Regions from separate parts of the Homo sapiens genome. Here all the other regions are linked to region 1. The links are contacts of gene promoters, found by promoter capture Hi-C in blood cells and fetal thymus (Javierre and others, 2016). All regions are on one chromosome and are shown on one strand. Each heading gives the region's core, a stretch centred on a gene start or on the middle of the fragment in contact. The rest is flanking DNA. Distances are from core to core; before and after follow the strand shown.

Region 1 (2,514 bases), core at 7-2,506:
CCAAGCTCGCTGGTGCCCATCAGGAGCCTGCTTGGCACCTTTGCTTATTTCTTCGATTGTTCCTCAACTCAGAGGGGGAGAGGCAAGATTATCACTCCCATAGCCTATAACATGCACGCTTAAACACAACCCCTCTGACATGGCTTCAGACCGCATCCACAGGTGAAAAGCACCAAATCCAAACAATCAGGCCACAAACCCGTCAAGAGCTCGCCGGTCTGGCCGTCCAGTCGCCGCCCGCCTTGAGACTCAGCCTGAGCTACAGCTTCGAAACTAGCCTCTAGCCTTCTGGGTCTCAGCACAACTCTTGAGCAATCCAACCCTGTGGCCGTGGGCAGATACCAAGATGCACAGTTAGCACCTCCGACAGGACCGCGGCTCGGCGGGGCTCGCCGTCTACACGCCCATTCCCAGGCCCACGGCCACGACACCCAGAGCTGCCTCCTGCCCTGGGCTCCCTGGAGCCTGGTGGCCGCGGCTCATGCTGCAGTCACCGTGTGGCCAGCTGCCAAGCGCCACTACTTGCACCTGAAGTCGCAGCCCCGCGCTGCGCACCCAGTCGAGGCGCCAACACGCGAACTGGGCGGGAGTGGCCGGCCCGCGGGGGAGCGAGGAACGACAGGGTTCCCCCCACTCGCTGCCCAGACTGGCCGCGGGATAGCGCGCCCCCCCCAAAGCCTGCACCCCTGCCCTGCTCCTCTATCATTCCGTCCCCCTTGCTCTGTCAAACCCTGCCGGGGCTGCTCTGTCTCTGCCGACCCGCCACTTGCCCGAAGTTCGGCCTGAGGAGCTTGGGGCCCTGAGGAGCGCCGACGTAGGCAGCCAGCCAGTCAATCAGTCAGAGGGTCACGGCGGCCCCTCGGCTACTCAGTGGCAGCCAGGCCAGAAAGAAGCAGCCGCCAACCCTGGAGCAGAATCCTACAGCCGACCTGACCTAGTAGGCCCCCAGCCCTCCAGAGCTTGGGGTATTGCAGAGCCGCCACAAGGCCTGCCGGGAGTAGTAGTTTGTATAGTTCGCAGCCGGCCAGGGCGGAGCCGGGTGGGTTGGTGGGGAGGGCGGGGAAACAAGCCTGGACCACAACTCCCAGGAGTACCCGCGACGGCGGCGGCCTCGCTGTCGCACTCAGGCTATAGGGGGCGCATTGGGCGGAAGACCCTGGGCCGGCAGGAACTTGCTTGTGATTGGATGTTGTGGGACGGCGGCTTCTCATTCGTCAGCCTGTGACTGTGGAGTTTGAATTGGGTGGCGGTTGACTGTAGAGCCGCTCTCTCTCACTGGCACAGCGAGGTTTTGCTCAGCCCTTGTCTCGGGACCGCAGGTACGTGCCTGGCGACTTCTTCGGGTGGTCCCCGTCCGCCCTCCTCGTCCCTACCCAGTTTCTTGCTTCCCTGCCCCATCTCCGCCGCTCCCCGCAGCCTCCGCCGAGCGCCATGGCTCCTAGGAAGGGCAGTAGTCGGGTGGCCAAGACCAACTCCTTACGGAGGCGGAAGCTCGCCTCCTTTCTGAAAGACTTCGACCGTGAAGGTAAGGGGCCAGGCCGTCGCGGCCTCCTGGGGCGGTCGCGGGATGCTGGCGGGTGGGGACACGAGCTGCACAGATTCGCCCGCCCGTGACCCGTGTCCTGTCGGCTCTGCCCTCCCGCAGTGGAAATACGAATCAAGCAAATTGAGTCAGACAGGCAGAACCTCCTCAAGGAGGTGGATAACCTCTACAACATCGAGATCCTGCGGCTCCCCAAGGCTCTGCGCGAGATGAACTGGCTTGACTACTTCGGTAAGAGCTGGAGAGCTTCCCTGGGCGGAGGCCAGGAGCCCCTTGGGGTTAGGTGACACCCTTCAGAAAGGGCTCGCTCAGATGTCACCTTTTAATGAGATCTGACATGACCACTTATGGAAAATTGCAGACCCTTTCACTCTCTGTCTCACTTCCCTACTTCATTTTTCTCTATGAAAAATGGGGGGGTGGTTGGGGGGCGGCGGGCGGGGCGGTCTCTGTCGGACAACTCAGCTCTGCTGTTTACAGGTCCAAAACAGCTGTAGTGAATGGGCATGGATGGGCTGTATTCCAATAAAATTTTAGTTATGGATACACTGAAATGTGAATTTCACATAATTTTCACACATCAGGAAATTTATTTAATTTTTTTTAAACAGAGTCTCACTCTGTCACCCAGGCTGGAGTGCAGTGCAGTGCAGTGGTGCGATCCCTGCTCACTGCAACCTCCACCTTCTGGGTTCAAGTGATTCTCCTGCCTCAGCCTCTGGAGTGGCTGGGATTACGGTCGCCTGCCACCATGCCCCGCTGATTTTTGTATTTTCAGTAGAGACGGGGTTTCACCATGTTGGCCAGGCTGGTCTCGAACTCCTGACCTCAAGTGATCCACCTACATAGGCCTCCCAAAGTGCTGGGATTACAGGAGTCAGCCACTGCGCCCGGCCAGAAAATAGTATTTTTAAAAATATATGTATATTTTACCCATTTAAAAATGAATGAATAAATGACATGGTTAGTTA
Region 2 (2,514 bases), core at 11-2,510, 1.3 Mb before region 1:
CTCAAGAATTTCCTAGGCCTAACATGGCCTGGGGAAAGCAGAAAAACAAAACAAAACAAAACAAAACTCTGCACACCTGAGAGGGGTATGGGTTACACTTGGAGGGGTCTTTTGGTGGGGGGATGGGGAGCAACTCAGCAGCAACCTTCATGGGCTGATGACAAAAGGTCACAACCAGATGAGAACATCTCAGTGGATGCTAGTGTGACTGGATGACCAAATCAGACTATGCTTCCCATGCTTTGGCACCTTGAAAGGAAGAGCCCTAGAATTCCAACAGAATGCCAAGGAAAATGGGGGAACTGTGAATTGACCGCAATTAACTTTCTGCCACTCTGGCTGAGTAGGGCAAAATACAGGAATTCAAGTGAGTTAAAGAAAATTCAAGTTCTGTTTCTTGCACACCAGAAACTGGAACCAGCTACACTCTGTCCACAGGCCTTGTGTCATATGCCCCACCCCCTCCCATTTCTCCACTCTCATCTGCCTCCCTCTCCCCCAATAGCCACAGTGTTACTATTATTGTCCCAAATCCCCAAGCTTTCCCATCCCAGGACCTTTGCACAGGCAGTTTCCTCTGCCTTGTCCTGGCTTTTTAAATGACAGGCTTCTTCTCAGTTTAACTACTTTCCTGCTGGGTGGGGTGGCTCAAGCCCTTAATCCCAGTGACTGGGGCCAAGGCAGGAGGATTGCTTGAGGCCAGAAGTTTGAGACCAGCCTGGACAACATAGTGATACCCTGTCTCTTAGGGAAAAAAAAAAAAGTTACGAAATTAAGACACCACAGGTGTGTGGTGGCATGCACCTGTAGTTCCAGCTACTTGGAAGGCTGAGGCTTGAGCCCAGGAGTTCAAAGCTGCAGTGAGCCATGATCGCACCACTGCTCTCTTGCCTGGGCAACAGAGCAAGACTCCCTGTCTAAAAAAAAAAGATTTCACTTCCTCAGACTACATTTTCCAAAATAAAACTACCTGTTATTGTCTCTCAAAAGGCCCTGTTTATTTCCTTCAGGGCACCTGTAAATATTTTTACTTTTTTAGTTTATCTGTTTCCCTCACTAGAATGTTCACTTCCTGAGGCAAGACCCTTGTTCATCTTGATGTTCCCCAGTTGCTACCACTGTGCCTGGTACATAGCTGGTGCTCAAGAATGACCTGTGGAATGGCTGACCAGTGGCAGTTGGGGAGTTCCTGGCTTCCCACAGGCTGGTGGGCACTGGGCTCTCTCAACCCCTTCCTGGGCCCCTGATAGCCTTTTCCAGCAAGCCAAGACCAGATTACAAAAGACCCACCTTTGGGGTTTAAAGTCTCAGCTGTGCTCTAACCGAGGGGCTTGGCAAAAATGTGTCTCTGCAGGGCCTGGTTCCCCTCATTATCATCTGTCTTCCCAAGACCTTGCCTAGGAATGACAGAGGGCCACTGGGGTCTGGCACATGACACTTAAGGAACATGTCTTGAGCCTGTCTTCTCAGCAACCCACACTAGCCTTACTGCTTCCCTTGCTGCTCTGCTGAGGACGGAGAAGCCCTTGGTGTGCCATCACAGCCTCAGAGCTCGACCTTTCCTGCATCCCTAAGCCGAACCCCCAGCTAAGCCCTCTTCCATTTCTCACACACGGGCACACATGTGGGAGAGGTCTGCAAGGGAAGCTGCTGTGGGACTCCCACCAGTTCCTCATCTCTCTCCCCACTTGCGAGGGTATGGTGACGTTCCCACAGCGAAGGCCTTCCCTCTGCACCTGCCCTCTGGTTTCTCTTTCCAGCAGTCACTTTGTGGTGTCAGTCAGTCCTCTTAACTCCAGTTGTCAGAGGGGCCGGAAAATTCAGAAGTTTTCTCTGCTAGGACCCTCCGTTCTCCCTGAAGGCAAAGGGCAGAGTTAAGGGGATTCTAGACCTGTAGGCAATAAAATAAATACAGTATGCAAAAGAATCACGGTGGATGGGTGGATGTGAATGCAGATTCCTGGGTGCTAGACTCCAATTCAAGCTTGGGTAAGGAGGAGCCAGGTAAGTGCATTTCCTACACACATCCCAGTTGGTCCTGATGAGGTGGTCTGCAGACAACACCTGACACAGACTGAACTCGAATGTGAATGCAGTGCCCTTGGGCTGCTAACGTCCACATGAACATTCCTCTCAAATCTCCCTCAAGAATGGTAGCATCTTAAGGTCAGGGGCCCTGCTTTATTCAAAACTCTCTGCCACAGCAGTTCTCAAGCTGGATTTCATCTTTGGTTTTTTTTTTTTTTTTTTTTTTTTTGAGACAGTCTCACTCTGTTGCCCAGGCTACAGTGCCATGGCGTGATCTTGGCTCACTGCAACCTCTGCCTCCTGGGTTCAAGCAATTCTTGTGCCTCAGCCTCCTGGGTAGCTGGGACTACAAGCGCATGCCACCACGCCCGGCTAATTGTTCTATTTTCAGTAGAGATGGTGTTTCACCATGTTGGCCAGGCTGGTCACAAACTCCTGGCCTCAAGTGATCCATCAGCCTCAGCCTCCCAAAATACTGAGATTACA
Region 3 (2,514 bases), core at 5-2,504, 1.3 Mb after region 1:
AATCCGAAATGCTGCAAAGTCTGAACTGATCCAAAAATTGAGTGTCAATATGACACTCAAAGGAAATACTTATTCACTGGAGTTTTTCTCATTTGGGGTAAGGGATGTTCAATTGGTAAGTATAATGCAACTATTCCACAATCCAAAACTTCTGTCTCAAGCATTTTGGATGAGGGATGCTCAATCTGTATGGTACTTTTTGTGGAAAGGTCCTGTAAAACTAAGCCTTTTATTGCTTAAATCTTTATTGAGTGCTAGGTGAATTCCAGACATGGAAGAAGGGGGTTGCTGACCGCAGGAAATATTTGTAAACGTAATGTGCAAAGCAATTAACTGATTATGACTTGAGAGTCTGAGAATAACTTCTGAATTAAGGTAGCATTTTAGCTGAGTCTTTTTTTGTTGTTTTTTGAGACAGAGTCACTCTGTTGCCCAGGCTGGAGTGTAGTGGCACGATCTTGGCTCACTGCAACCGCCGTCTCCCATGTTCAAGCGATTCTCCTGCCTCAGCCTCCCCAGTGGCTGGGATTACAGGCATGTGTCACTACGCTCGGCTAATTTTTTTTTTTTTTTTTTTTTTTTTTTTTTTTTTGAGATGACGTTTCGCTCTTGTTGCCCAGGCTGGAGTGCAGTAGCATGATCTCGGCTCACTGCAACTTCCACCTCCCAGACTCAAGCGATTCTCCTGCCTTAGCCTCCCAGAACGCTGGGATTACAGGCGCATGCCACCATTCTCAGCTAATTTTTGTATTTTTAGTGGAGATAGGGTTTCATCATACTGGTCAGGCTGGTCTCAAACACCTGACCTCAGGTGATCCGCCTGCCTCAGACTCCCAAAGTGCTGGGATTACAGGCATGAGCCACCACACCCGGCCTACTAATTTTTGTATTTTTTTTGTCAAGACAGGGTTTCACTGTATTGGCCAAGCTGGTCTCAAACTCCTGACCTCAGGTGATCTGCCCGCCTCGGCCTCCCAAAGTGCTGGGATTGCATGAGCCACTGCGCCTGGCTAGCTGAGTCTTGATCAAGTTTGAGCAATAGTCCCATTTCGAGCACAGGGAAACCATGAGAGCAAAGTCCAAAAAACCCACAATTTAAGGAGAGAATAATGTAATGTAACTAAATTATAGTGGAATCCAGATGGAACCAGGAAAATAAATTGAGGCCACATCTTGGAAAGTATTGACTGCCATGTTCAAGAGTTTGAATTTTGGTTTGTAGCAGTAGGAACACTGTAGAGTTTGGAGGATGGGCTTAGACCGGAAAAAATCTGGCAGCACAACCTCAAGTAATGGAGGGAAGGATTAAAATTATCCACTGTTAAAAAGAAATTTGAGTTTTTCTTTTTAAAAAAATTTTGTGCTTTATATGGCCTTCTACAGAAGAAAATCATGTCTAACTTTCTTATTTTTCTCCCATGGATACCGTGTTTAGATTCTTGGACTTCTTAGTCCTACCACCCTCAAAATTGTATCTTTCCATTTGTTAACATTGCCATACAGGAGGCAGAGGTTTATCAAAGACCTTCTGTTCTCTTAAGCGTTGTCCTCATACTTGTCCTTTCTTGTTTCAAGTATTTGCAGTTCTTATCCTTGTATTGGCTCTGGCTTGAGGAATAAGACATCTTAAAATACAGGGGGCTAGCGGTGGCTCACGCCTGTATTCCCAGCACTTTGGGAGGCCGAGGCGGGCGGATCAGCTGAGGTCAGGAGTTTGAGACCAGCCTGGCCAACATTGTGAAACTCTGTCTCTACTAAAAATACAAAAAATTAGGTGGGTGTGGTGGCGGGCTCCTGAAATCCAAACTACTCTGGAGGCTGAGGCAGGAGAATTGCTTGAACCTGGGAGGTAGAGGTTGCAGTGAACTGAGATTGTGCTATTGCACTACAGCCTGGGCGACAGGGTAAGACTCTCTTAAAAAATAAAGTGAGGTGAAAACTTAATAAATTCAGGAATCTAAAATACAAACTTCATAGCACTGTTTTGTTTTGTTTTTTGAGACAGTGTCTTACTCTGTTGCCCAGGCTGGAGTCCAATGGGGTGATCTCGGCTCACTGCAATCTCCACCTCCTGGGTTGAAGCAATTCTCCTGCCTCAGCCTCCCAAGTAGCTGGGATTACAGGTGCGCACCACCATGCCCAGCTAATTTTTGTATTTTTAGTAGAGATGGTTTCGCCATGTTGGTCAGGCTGGTCTCGAACCTCAGGTGATCCACCTGCCTAGGCCTCCCAAAGTGCTGGGATTACAGGCGTGAGCCACCATGTACAGGCTTTTTTTCTTTTTTTTAATACTGGGTCTCGTTATGTTGCCCAGGCTGGCCTCAAGTGATCCTCCCACCTTGGCCTTCCAAAGTGCTGGATTACAGGCATGAGCCACAGTGCCTGGCCCATAGCACTCTTGTTTTTTTGTTTTGTTTTTCTATTTTTTTTTTGAGGCAGAGTCTTGATTGTGTTTCCCAGGCTGGAGTGCAGTGGCACAATCTCGGCTCAGTGCAACCTCCACCTCCCCGGTTC
Region 4 (2,514 bases), core at 11-2,510, 1.2 Mb before region 1:
TGATTTAATGCCTGTGCTTTTAAATATTATTATTATTATTATTATTTTTGAAGTGGAGTCTCGCTCTGTCGCCCAGGCTGGAGTGCAGTGGCAAGATCTCGGCTCACTGCAACCTCTGCCTCCCAGGTTCAAGTGATTCTCCTGCCTCAGTCTCCCAAGTAGCTGGGATTATAAGTGCCCACCACCATGCCCAGGTAATTTTTGTATTTTTAGTAGAGACAGGGTTTCACCATGTTGGCCAGGCTGGCCTCGAACTCCTGACCTCAAGTGATCCTCCTGCCTCAGATTCCCAAAGTGCTGGGATTACAGGTGTGAGCCACTGCACCTGGCCTCTTAAATATTATACAGGTTGTCTTCCCAGCATACTTGGTGTGGTGAGAGCATTTAAAATATTGAGGAGGATGGCTGATGATAGGCACACACCACACCCAAATGTCAAATGACAGAAGGTATCTGAGATTTATTTAAAGGCTGAGAAAGTCTAAGGCTTTATTCTGAGGAGTCGACAACTTTTTCAGGTTTCCTGCTTGCAGTAGGTAAGGGGAAACTGAAGCTTTTGCATGATGAGGCCACACTGCATGCATGATGTCATGCCTTCTGCCCACAGTCCTGGCAGCCATGCAGTTACATGCTTCAATTTTTCTCGGTTGCTCTGTGAGCTTAGGAGAATGGCTCAGGGAGGGTCACTCATGTTGAAGCACAATTCTTTGGTTACATGACAAAACAAAGTTGTTTTAAGGACTACCAAATAGGATGACATACCCCAAAGTATGGCTATTGCCCCAGCTGTCCCAGCAAAGCTTGGAACTGAGAAAAGGAGACATATCCCTCAAGTACAGTGTGGCTTTTTGGTCAGAGTTTGCTTAGTTTTCATCTTAACATGCTGTATTTCTTCCTCTTAAGTAAAAGATTCAAATGTATAACCAATATCTCAGCTAAAGACAAACTCATGCCTATTTTCTTACTTTGACTTTGAAATGTTTCAAGCGGTCCCATTTTAAGCCCTGCTGATAAAGGCCTGAGTGAACCTGTGGATGCACACTGAACACATGCAGCCCGGAGATAGCATACCTCGTTTTCTGTCCACCTCTGTCCATTCATCTACATGAAGCATACAAAAAGAAAACACCAGTTCATGAAGCAAGAACATTATTTTCAAGGAGGCTTTAAACATACCAATTCCAATGATCTTATCTATGAAACTTTACTTTTCACGTTGGCATTTAATGTCTAATGTGAGCACACTGCCTTCTATTTGAAACCTTTAAAAGGATGATGGATAAACAACATATTTCAAAAAAGCTCAAGAAAGGCTATGTCTTACAGAGACTGGCCTAAGAAGAGAGTAAACTGAGGAGGATTAGCTATCCTGTGGTTCATCTTGAAAGGCCCAAGAAGCCCCGCTCTCTAATGCTACAAGAATACATATCATTCAGTAGTAGGCTTTTAAAGACGCTAGCCTCCATGAGGAAGAATAATTCCAAGAACAGGCAGAGAAAAGAGTTTCTTTGTATACAATCTGAGTTTTCTTTTCTTTTCTTTTTTTTTTATTAATGTAAGATTTCCCTTTCTAGAGGACAGATGGAACTGCTCAAATTAGAAAACTTGAAATGTGAATTAAAAGGAAAATGTCAGCATTTGTTTCTGTTTTACTTTTTATATATATAGATGCATGATTTCCATGTAAAAAGAAGCGAATAATGATGGGACCACTATGAAGAAAGCTTCTGAGGACAAAGGCAGCTGGGGAGATCCCAAGAGGAGACCAAATAAGGAAAAATGCAGTTGGCTAGAGAAATCGGTGAGAATCAAGACTCTATGGGTTGAAACCTGGCTCTACTTACTGGCTATATAAACTTCAAGCAACTTGTTTAACCTCAGTTTCCTTCGTAAAATAGGGATCATAATAGCACCTATCTTACAGGCCTATTGTGGGGATAAAGCATAACACACATCAAATACTTAGCTGGCTTCCCTTTGAGTTCTGTTTCCTCTACTGAGGGACATTAGACACCACCCATAAAGGATGGAAGATGACTTTTTTCCTTTCCTTAATTTTTGATGGAGATTTCAATCTAGAAGAACCACCCCTAGATAAAAAAGTTCTATACACATCTGTATTTCAAAAACATTTTGGCGAGGCACAGTGGCTCATGCCTGTAATCCCAGAACTTTGGGAGGCCAAGATGGGCGGATCACCTGAGGTCAGGAGTTCGAGACCAGCCTGGCCAACATGGTGAAACCTCATCTCTACAAAAAATACAAAAATTAGCTGGGTGTGGTGGTGCACACCTATAGTCTCAGCTACTTGGGAGGCTGAAGCAGGAGGATTGCTTGAACCCAGGAGGTGAAGGTTGCAGTGAGTGGAGACTACGCCACTGGGCGACAGAGCAACACTCCATCTCAAAAAACAAAAACAAACAAACAAAAACCCCAAAACCATTTTGTAATTAATAGTTTCTTTTGGAAACATTTGCCACTAGATTGTGGTATTAGGGGTGATTTCTGAAGTTA
Region 5 (2,514 bases), core at 6-2,505, 1.2 Mb before region 1:
TTGTGATCCACCTGCTTGGCCTCCCAAAGTGCTGGGATTACAGGCGTGAGCCACCGCGCCTGGCCTAGTCTTACTATTATTATCACACATCGTGAGCTTTAGTTTCCAAGGTGTGTTTACATCCCCTAGCTGCCTCTCACAATGCTGCCATGAGGTGGGTAACATTACCTCTGCTCTGCTCTCCCTTATTCCCCCATTTCCAGATGAGGAAGCAGGGGCTCCAAGAGAGGGTTGGTGACTTACCCAAGCTCACACAGTGGTACAAGGTCCAACTGGGTGTTGACTCCAGCATCAGAGCTTGGGATACAGGGTCCAATTTTCATTGCCCTAGGTCCTTCATGTCTCTCCCTTTCCCCAGCCCATGTGCATGTGCTTGTAGACAAGAGCCCTAGATCAGGTCCCAGCTAGCAGGCTTCCCTACACCCCCACTCCCCAAGGGTCCCCGACCAACTTCGAGCCTCCAGGGATCTGGTGTCCTCTGGGTTTGCAACAATCTTCTTCATAAACTGTTCTTGCTTGATTTTTAGCATCTCCTTCTGTTGAAGACAGAGACAGAGAAAATCTGTGGAGTCTGCCACCCTCTAAGAACTAGCCCTCCTCCCCCCAAGGGCCCTGGCTACAGTTATAGCAACTAGGGCCATAAGGCTCAGGGCCTGACTTCACTCTGCTCACTGTGGCCTTGACCAACCACATGGCTATCCACATCCAGGTGAGCCCAAAGCCAAAGCCACTGACAGAGGAAATGACTTGTTGCATGAATGTCCCCAAAGCTTGCTCATTCATTTATGCTCATTCATTCATTCACTGAGCACCTGTTTGTCAGGTGCTAGGGGTATGGTGGGGGAACAAAAGTGTCCCTGCCCTGAAGATGCTCTGTCTAGGGATATTGACAAATGGAGGCAGAATGACAGTGGGCTAAGTGCTGTGACTGGAGAAGCATGAGATGCGGGGTGCTAATCAGGGTAGAAGGGAGTCCCAGAGGAGAAGACTGCGGGAGGCTGAGGCTTGGCAGAGGCTGCTCACCTTGTTGGCCATTTCCAAAGACAAGAGTCTTTTCACGACATCATCAACCCTGTGGATAAACCACAGCAATGAGACAGACATTGGGGGAGAAGAGAGGAAAGCAATGCTGGTTTCATTTTAGTTTGAAAAGCAAAGATGATTGAAAAATTCCTTCTGTAGCAAATGAATCTCCCTGGAGGTGGGGAGCCATTTCCCAGGGATTAAAAGTCAGTGTGGATCTGGCTTGCTGGGCTGAAACTACAGAAACTGGGGCTGTCAGCTCGACTGTTCCGGTCTCATCACAGGGAGGGCAAGGAGAGGATTTCCATTTTAGCTACAACATGGTTCAATCTGTTTTGAGACATTTCAAGTTAAATTGCACAGTGGGAGGGACTGACCAGCTCCCACCACACTGCATAGGAGCTGAGCAGAGGGCCTCTGGCTTTGGTGTCAGTCAGCCCTGGATTCAAACTCTAGCTCTGCCCTTTAGAACTGTATGACACTGGACAGCTTGAAAATCTATAAAATGGGGACATACAGCTTTTGTGAGGAACAAGAGATGAGAGATTTCTACAAAGACCTGTGAAGTATGTTAGCTCCTTGGAATCTAGTGGTACAGGGTGTTCATCTAGAGTACAAAAAAACCCCCAAGTAGCCGAGCTCCATGAGTGCCATCTGCCTTGCTGACCACCCACCCTCACCACACCTGGACACCTGGGCCCCTGCCTCCTTCTAGATCAAGCTTCAGCTACAGCAAGCCAAGTCTCAAAGCCACTGTCTTTCCCCACTCCCCGACAATCCTCCCAGGGCCCCCTGCCTCCTCTACTAGGTTTCTTCCTGCTTACTTCTCAATTCCAGGGACATTCTGGTAGTCTTTGAGCAGCGTAGAGGGAGGTGGGTCATCATCCAGCCTAGACTGGGCTGTCAAGTAAATATGGGGATAGAAAACACCCAGAGTCAACTCTCGCTGCCCACCCTCCCAGACCTGGCTCTTTTCACCCACTCTCCAACTCCAGAAGGGACATTCAGGGTCTCAAGCAAAGCACTGGATATCTCTCGGCTCAGTTTCTCCTTTGCAAACTCCGTGGGCACCTGCTTTGATATTTCATGTTGCGAGTAGGTGGCTTTTCCCAAGACCCTACACTGTGCCTGCACCTTTCACACACCTATCTGGCTCTACAGTTCTCAGATCCCCCACTAGGATGGGTCCTCCTGTGGATAGGACAGAGTTTGACTCCCTTGGAATCCACCATAGTCTGGCCCATGGCTCAGCCTAGACTAGGCACTCAACAAACACTTGCTGGCTGACTGCATGTATGAATTAAGGGGGTTGAGGAAAGGCAGCTAGCTGTACGATGCCTGAAATGTAAGCACCAAGTAGAGATCACAGGAAAACCTCAGTCTTGGTGTGTGCACCCCTGCTATCCCTTGGAGATGAGGAAGAGGCATAGAGTAGATGGACTTATCCTCTCCAGTCAGACCCTGCTATGCAAATAACATTAATGGGCCTCT
Region 6 (2,514 bases), core at 9-2,508, 1.2 Mb before region 1:
TTTTCTCCTAAAAACCTGCTTTTCTGTCCTGGTGAATCCAGAAACTTAAACTGGTCCTGAACACCTCCCTGCTGGTCACCCCCTACATCCAGTCTGTCGCTCCTTCCAGTGCGATTTGTCCCTTCTCTCCCACCTTATGGCCCCTGCAGGAAGCCAGTCCATCATTGTTGTCTCCTTGGATGACGTCTCGGCTTCCTCCTGGTCTCCCTGCCTTCATTCCTGGGATACACCCTTGCTATACTTAGCTGGAGTGCTTCTTCCAAATTGTGAATTCCAGTATGTCACCACCCAACAGAAAATTGGCTGGACGCTGTGGCTCATGCCTGTAATCCCAGCACTTTGGGAGGCCAAGGCAGGTGGATCACCTGAGGTCAGGAGTTCGAGACCAGCCTGGCCAACATGGTGAAACCCCATCTCTACTAAAAATACAAAAATTAGCCAGGCGTGGTGGTGGGCACCCGTAATCCCAGCTATTCGGGAGGCTGAGGCAGGAGAGTCACTTGAACCCGGGAGGTGGAGGTTGCAGTGAGCTGAGACCATGCCACTGCACTCCAGTGTGGGTGACAAAAGCAAAACTCCTTCAAAAAATAAAAAAAAAAGGCATCCATCCATTGGTTCCTCGCTGTCCATGGGCTAAATTTCTAAGTCTTCCTCATGTCCTTTGAGGCCCTTCAAAACCAGACCCTGAAGGGGTGGCCTGCCCCTCCACACCTGTGGGTGTTTCTCATCGGACTGACAAAAGAGAGAGACACAGAAACAAAGTATAGAGAAGGAAAAGTGGGCCCAGGGGACTGGTGCTCCAGAGGACCCGCGAAGGCACGGGTCTCTGAGTTCCCTCAGTATTTATTGATCATTATCTCTACCATCTCTGAGAGGGGGTTGTGGCAGGACAGTAGGGTAATAGTGGGGAGAGGGTCAGCAGGAAAACATGTGAACAAATGTCTCTGTATCATAAATAAGGTTAAGAAAAAGGTGCTGAGCTTTGATGTGCACATACATAAACATCTCAATGCATTAAAGAGCAGTATTGCCACCAGCATGTCTCACCTCCAGCCTTAAGGCGGTTTTCTCCTATCTCAGTAGATGGAACATACAATCGGGTTTTACACCGAGACATTCCATTGCCCAGGGAGGAGCAGGAGACAGATGTCTTCCTCTTATCTCAACTGCAAAGAGGCCTTCCTCTTTTACTAATCCTCCTCAGCACAGACCCTTTACAGGTGTCGGGCTGGGGGACGCTCAGGTCTTTCCCTTCCCACGAGGCCATATTTCAGACTATCACATGGGGAGAACCCTTGGACAATACCTGGCTTTCCTAGGCAGAGGTCACTGTGGCCTTCTGCAGTGTTTTGTGTCCCTGGGTACTTGAGATTAGGGAGTGGTGATGACTTTTAACAAGCATGCTGCCTTCAAGCATTTGTTTAACAAAGTGCATCCTGCATAGCCCTAAATCCATTAAACCTTGAGTCGACACAGCACATGTTTCTGTGAGCACAGGGTTGGGGGTAGGGTTACAGATTAACAGCATCTCAAGGCAGAAGAATTTTTCTTAGTACAGAACAAAATGGAGTCTGTTATGTCTACCTCTTTCTACATAGACACAGTAACAGTCTGATCTCTCTTTCTTTTCCCAACATTTTCCCCTTTTCTTTTAGACAAAAACACCATTGTCATCATGGCTTGTTCTCGATGGTCGCTGTCTCTTCGGAGCTGCTGGGTACACCTGCAGACTGGGGCCTGCCTCTGGGGAAGGATTAATATGAAATTTACAATAGTAGTACTTCCGATGGTCTTAACCCACGTGACAGGGTTAAGATTTGTGAGGCCATCAGCAACTCCCGCGATTACCTCAGTTCCTGGTACCAAATTTAAATGGGCTTTTGATGCTTCGAAAATTTGTTCTTTTAATTTGGAAATGTCTAAAGTGGGATTATCTTCTCTTCCCTGCAGATGGCGTCTAACCATGTCCCAGTGATGCTCAGACTCATTATAAACTCGGGGTGTAATACAAAAATCTGATGTATCCCAGTCACACTGTAACTGGAAACGATGTTCTAGGCTCATGAGCCTATCTCCCATCAGGATTATCCATCCATGTGACTGCCTGAATTAAGGGCGGGAAAGGCACATAGGCCCAGTAGGTATAATTAGCTGCAGCTGCTCCTGCAGGCATGGGGAGACTTACCACAGTTGATACAATCATCAAAGCTGCAAGCAGCATGTTCTCTGGAGTTTGTGTCACCTTTGTGTTCTCTAGGCTTTTTTTTTTTTAGTTAACTGTGTCAGCTTCTTTAATTGTGCCCAAGTCGGCGCCTCCACCTTCTTGGTGGATGGCAACTTCATCTGTTCTTCTGACATCACCATTCTGTTCATCTTGTGAGTTGATGGTGCTTGATTGCAGTGTCTCCGTCTCCGTGGAGGCGCTTTTCTTTGCATCTCCAATGGGTTCATTGTAGAACTTCAAATGTCTAGTGGGTATCCAAACAGGAAGCTGATTTTCTCCTGGTGAAACAC
Region 7 (2,514 bases), core at 11-2,510, 1.2 Mb after region 1:
TTCAACCACAGAGCGAGTGAAAATGTGTATCACATAAGTGCAAAGCAAGGTTCCTCTGAGTGGAGCTTTATTTAGTTTCCTTTTCTCCAGCTGACAAAGCTCTTGCTCCAATCTCCTCCGATCCCTAGGCATTTCAAACTCTACCTCCTCCAGTTCTACTCTTAACTGAGCTTTCATCCTTTGCCTCTCTTCCTCAAGAACTCTCAGTCGGTACAATGCATGGCCCATGTAGACCAGGGATGGTGAAGACACAAATATCACCTGCAGAACCCAGTATCTAATGAGGGAGATAGGAAAGGCCTGGTCGTAGCATACATTTCTGCAGCCTGGTTGTTCTGTATTGCAGATGAAGCCAGACTGCTCATCATTCCAGACATCTTCAGCTGCTACACCCAGAACAAGCATTCGAAATATGAACAGGATGGTGAGCCAGATCTTTCCAATCATGGTGGAGTGGATGTGAACTTCCTCCAGAGTATCTCCAAGGAGATTCCAGTCCCCCATGTTTATTTAGTCAGCCATCTTAGCTCTGATCCACATCAAATAAGAGGCAGATAAATTCTTCCATTCTGAAGGGAGCACTATTTCTTAAAGCAAACCTATGGTGAAAATATAACAATATGTCACTTCTATATGCTGGTTGCTTTACTTTTTCCCTAGATAGCTGTGGGGTTTTTTCTTTGTTTGTTTGTTTGTTGAGACAGAGTCTCCCTCTGTTGCCCAGGCTGGAGTACAGTGTTGCAACCACAACTCCCTGCAGCCTCAACCTCCCAGACTCAAGCGATCATCTCCCCTCTCAGCCTCCTGAGTAGCTGGGACTGCAGGTGTGTGCAACTACACCCAGATAATTTTTTTTATTTTTTTGTAGAGACAGGGTCTCACTCTATTGCTGCAGCTAGTCTTAAACTCCTAGACTCAAGTGATCCTCTTGCCTTCACCTCCCAAAGTGTGGGAATTACAGGTGTGGGTCACCACACCTGGCCAAAGTGTGAATCTGTTACCAATAATATACTTAAATGTCAGGAATTTAAAATCACTTATATTTAGACATCACAATACAATGAAAAAAACATGATACCTGGAGGAGGAGTGTATATATTCTCTATTAAGAATATAGGCTGGGCGGGGTGGCTCACACCTGTAATCCCAACACTTTGGGAGGCCAAGGTGGGTGGATCATTTGAGGTCAGGAGTTCCAGACCAGCCTGGCCAACATGGTAAAACCCCGCCTCTACTAAAAATACAAAAATTAGCCAGGCGTGGTGGCAGGCGCTTGTAGTCCCAGCTACTCGGGAGGCTGAGGCAAGAGAATCGCTTGAACCTGGAAGGCAGAGGTTGCAGTGAGCTGAGATCAAACCCTTGACCTCAGATGATCTGGCCACCTCGGCCTCCCAAAGTGCTGGGATTACAGGCATGAGCCAATGCGCATGGCCTAAAATTATATTCTTTTTTTTTTTTTTTTTGAGACGGAGTCTCACTCTGTAGCCCAGGCTGGAGTGCAATGGCATGATCTCAGCTCACCGCAACCTCCACCTCCTGGGTTCAAGCGATTCTCCTGCCTCAGCCTCCTGAGTAGCTGTGATTACAGGCATGCACCACCATGCCCGGATAATTTTGTATTTTTAGTAGAGATGATGTTTCTCCATGTTGGCCAGGCTGGTCTCGAACTCCTGACCTCAGGTGATCTGCCCACCTCGGCCTCCCAAAGTGCTGGGATTACAGGCGTGAGCCACCATGCCCAGCCTATTGTTGTTTTTCAACAGAACTTTTGGAAAGGTTTCTAAAACTAGTAACCTGATCTTAACCTTATTTATTAAGATTATTTGATATAAAAGTTATAACAAAGTCAATTTCTTTTTCCCCAACATGCCATTACTGGCTTGAAAAGTCAGTGATTTTTTTTTCTTTCTTTCTTTCTTTTGGGACAGAGTCTTGCTCTGTCGCCAGGCTGGAGTGCAGTGGCGCAATCTCGGCGCATTGCAACCTCCGCCTCCTGGGTTCAAGCGATTCCCCTGCCTCATCCTCCTGAGTAGCTGGGATTACAGGCGCCTGCCAACACCCCCCGGGATAATTTTTTGTATTTTAGTAGACACGGGGTTTCACCATGTTGGCCAGGATGATCTCGATCTCCTGACCTCGTGATCCACCCGCCTCAGCCTCCCAAAGTGCCAGGATTACAGGCATGAGCCACCGTGCCCGGTCAAAAAGTCAGTGATTTTTAAATCTCATTTATACACATAGGAAAACGAATATGCTTCATTTGATAATTCAGTAAGATATGGCATTCAGTGAAACCAGAGGAAACAGATCTGGCTGTCATAGGAATTTAGATTAGTTTTTTTAATCCAAATTGAAATAAATTTGAAATAAATTCTGGTTTCTTCCTGGCAATTGGTGAACATTTTCAGAAATTCATCTCAGTAATATTTATGAATATGTATAAAGTACTTATTATACTTTACTATGAAAAAGTATACTTTTTTTCTTTTTTTTTGGTGGGGGGAGACAGAGTCT

The links. The method cuts DNA at HindIII sites, captures the fragments that hold promoters and counts their contacts. A CHiCAGO score of 5 or more calls a contact.
Region 2: a fragment that was not itself captured here is called in contact with the fragment with the promoter of CDCA8 in region 1 in 5 of 17 cell types (fetal thymus, total B cells, total CD8 T cells and 2 more); the score reaches 7.8 in fetal thymus.
Region 3: a fragment that was not itself captured here is called in contact with the fragment with the promoter of CDCA8 in region 1 in 3 of 17 cell types (fetal thymus, erythroblasts and total B cells); the score reaches 9.8 in fetal thymus.
Region 4: a fragment that was not itself captured here is called in contact with the fragment with the promoter of CDCA8 in region 1 in 2 of 17 cell types (fetal thymus and total CD8 T cells); the score reaches 5.6 in fetal thymus.
Region 5: a contact is called between a fragment that was not itself captured here and the fragment with the promoter of CDCA8 in region 1, in 10 of 17 cell types (naive CD8 T cells, total CD8 T cells, fetal thymus and 7 more). The highest score is 16.7, in naive CD8 T cells.
Region 6: a contact is called between a fragment that was not itself captured here and the fragment with the promoter of CDCA8 in region 1, in 2 of 17 cell types (M2 macrophages and neutrophils). The highest score is 6.8, in M2 macrophages.
Region 7: a fragment that was not itself captured here is called in contact with the fragment with the promoter of CDCA8 in region 1 in 12 of 17 cell types (fetal thymus, naive CD4 T cells, total B cells and 9 more); the score reaches 25.7 in fetal thymus.

What each region holds. Positions count from the first base shown.
Region 1 is chr1:37,691,260-37,693,773 of GRCh38, forward strand. It overlaps CDCA8 (cell division cycle associated 8), which reads left to right and starts at 1,257. Exons shown (of 10, transcript NM_001256875.2): 1 at 1,257-1,525; 2 at 1,646-1,774. The coding sequence starts at 1,432. It also overlaps a transcript of AIRIM not described here. RefSeq lists enhancers at 1-508, 509-1,018, 791-980, 1,019-1,529, 1,530-2,038 and silencers at 311-370, 391-560. The HindIII fragment of the contact is 4,527 bases long and covers 1-2,514 here.
Region 2 is chr1:36,389,750-36,392,263 of GRCh38, forward strand. LOC124904012 (a long non-coding RNA gene) reads left to right here. Exons shown (of 2, transcript XR_007065779.1): 2 at 1-989. Among named protein-coding and RNA genes, the nearest start is that of STK40, 5.1 kb to the left of the region's middle. The HindIII fragment of the contact is 1,444 bases long and covers 539-1,982 here.
Region 3 is chr1:38,994,115-38,996,628 of GRCh38, forward strand. All of the region lies in intron 1 of AKIRIN1 (akirin 1), which reads left to right. Among named protein-coding and RNA genes, the nearest start is that of AKIRIN1, 4.1 kb to the left of the region's middle. The HindIII fragment of the contact is 5,767 bases long and covers 1-2,514 here.
Region 4 is chr1:36,442,933-36,445,446 of GRCh38, forward strand. All of the region lies in intron 1 of OSCP1 (organic solute carrier partner 1), which reads right to left. LOC107984940 (a long non-coding RNA gene) reads left to right here. Exons shown (of 3, transcript XR_001737976.2): 2 at 1,669-1,801. Among named protein-coding and RNA genes, the nearest start is that of OSCP1, 6.3 kb to the right of the region's middle. The HindIII fragment of the contact is 924 bases long and covers 799-1,722 here.
Region 5 is chr1:36,460,241-36,462,754 of GRCh38, forward strand. It overlaps MRPS15 (mitochondrial ribosomal protein S15), which reads right to left. Exons shown (of 8, transcript NM_031280.4): 3 at 1,848-1,923; 4 at 1,024-1,072; 5 at 452-536. Among named protein-coding and RNA genes, the nearest start is that of MRPS15, 2.9 kb to the right of the region's middle. The HindIII fragment of the contact is 974 bases long and covers 769-1,742 here.
Region 6 is chr1:36,488,299-36,490,812 of GRCh38, forward strand. No RefSeq gene overlaps it. Among named protein-coding and RNA genes, the nearest start is that of CSF3R, 6.6 kb to the left of the region's middle. The HindIII fragment of the contact is 3,716 bases long and covers 1-2,514 here.
Region 7 is chr1:38,875,595-38,878,108 of GRCh38, forward strand. GJA9 (gap junction protein alpha 9) reads right to left here. Exons shown (of 2, transcript NM_030772.5): 2 at 1-599. The coding sequence starts at 504. RRAGC-DT (RRAGC divergent transcript) reads left to right here. Exons shown (of 2, transcript NR_186075.1): 2 at 347-632. The region is part of intron 1 of GJA9-MYCBP (GJA9-MYCBP readthrough); the gene reads right to left. Among named protein-coding and RNA genes, the nearest start is that of MYCBP, 3.5 kb to the left of the region's middle. The HindIII fragment of the contact is 8,897 bases long and covers 1-2,514 here.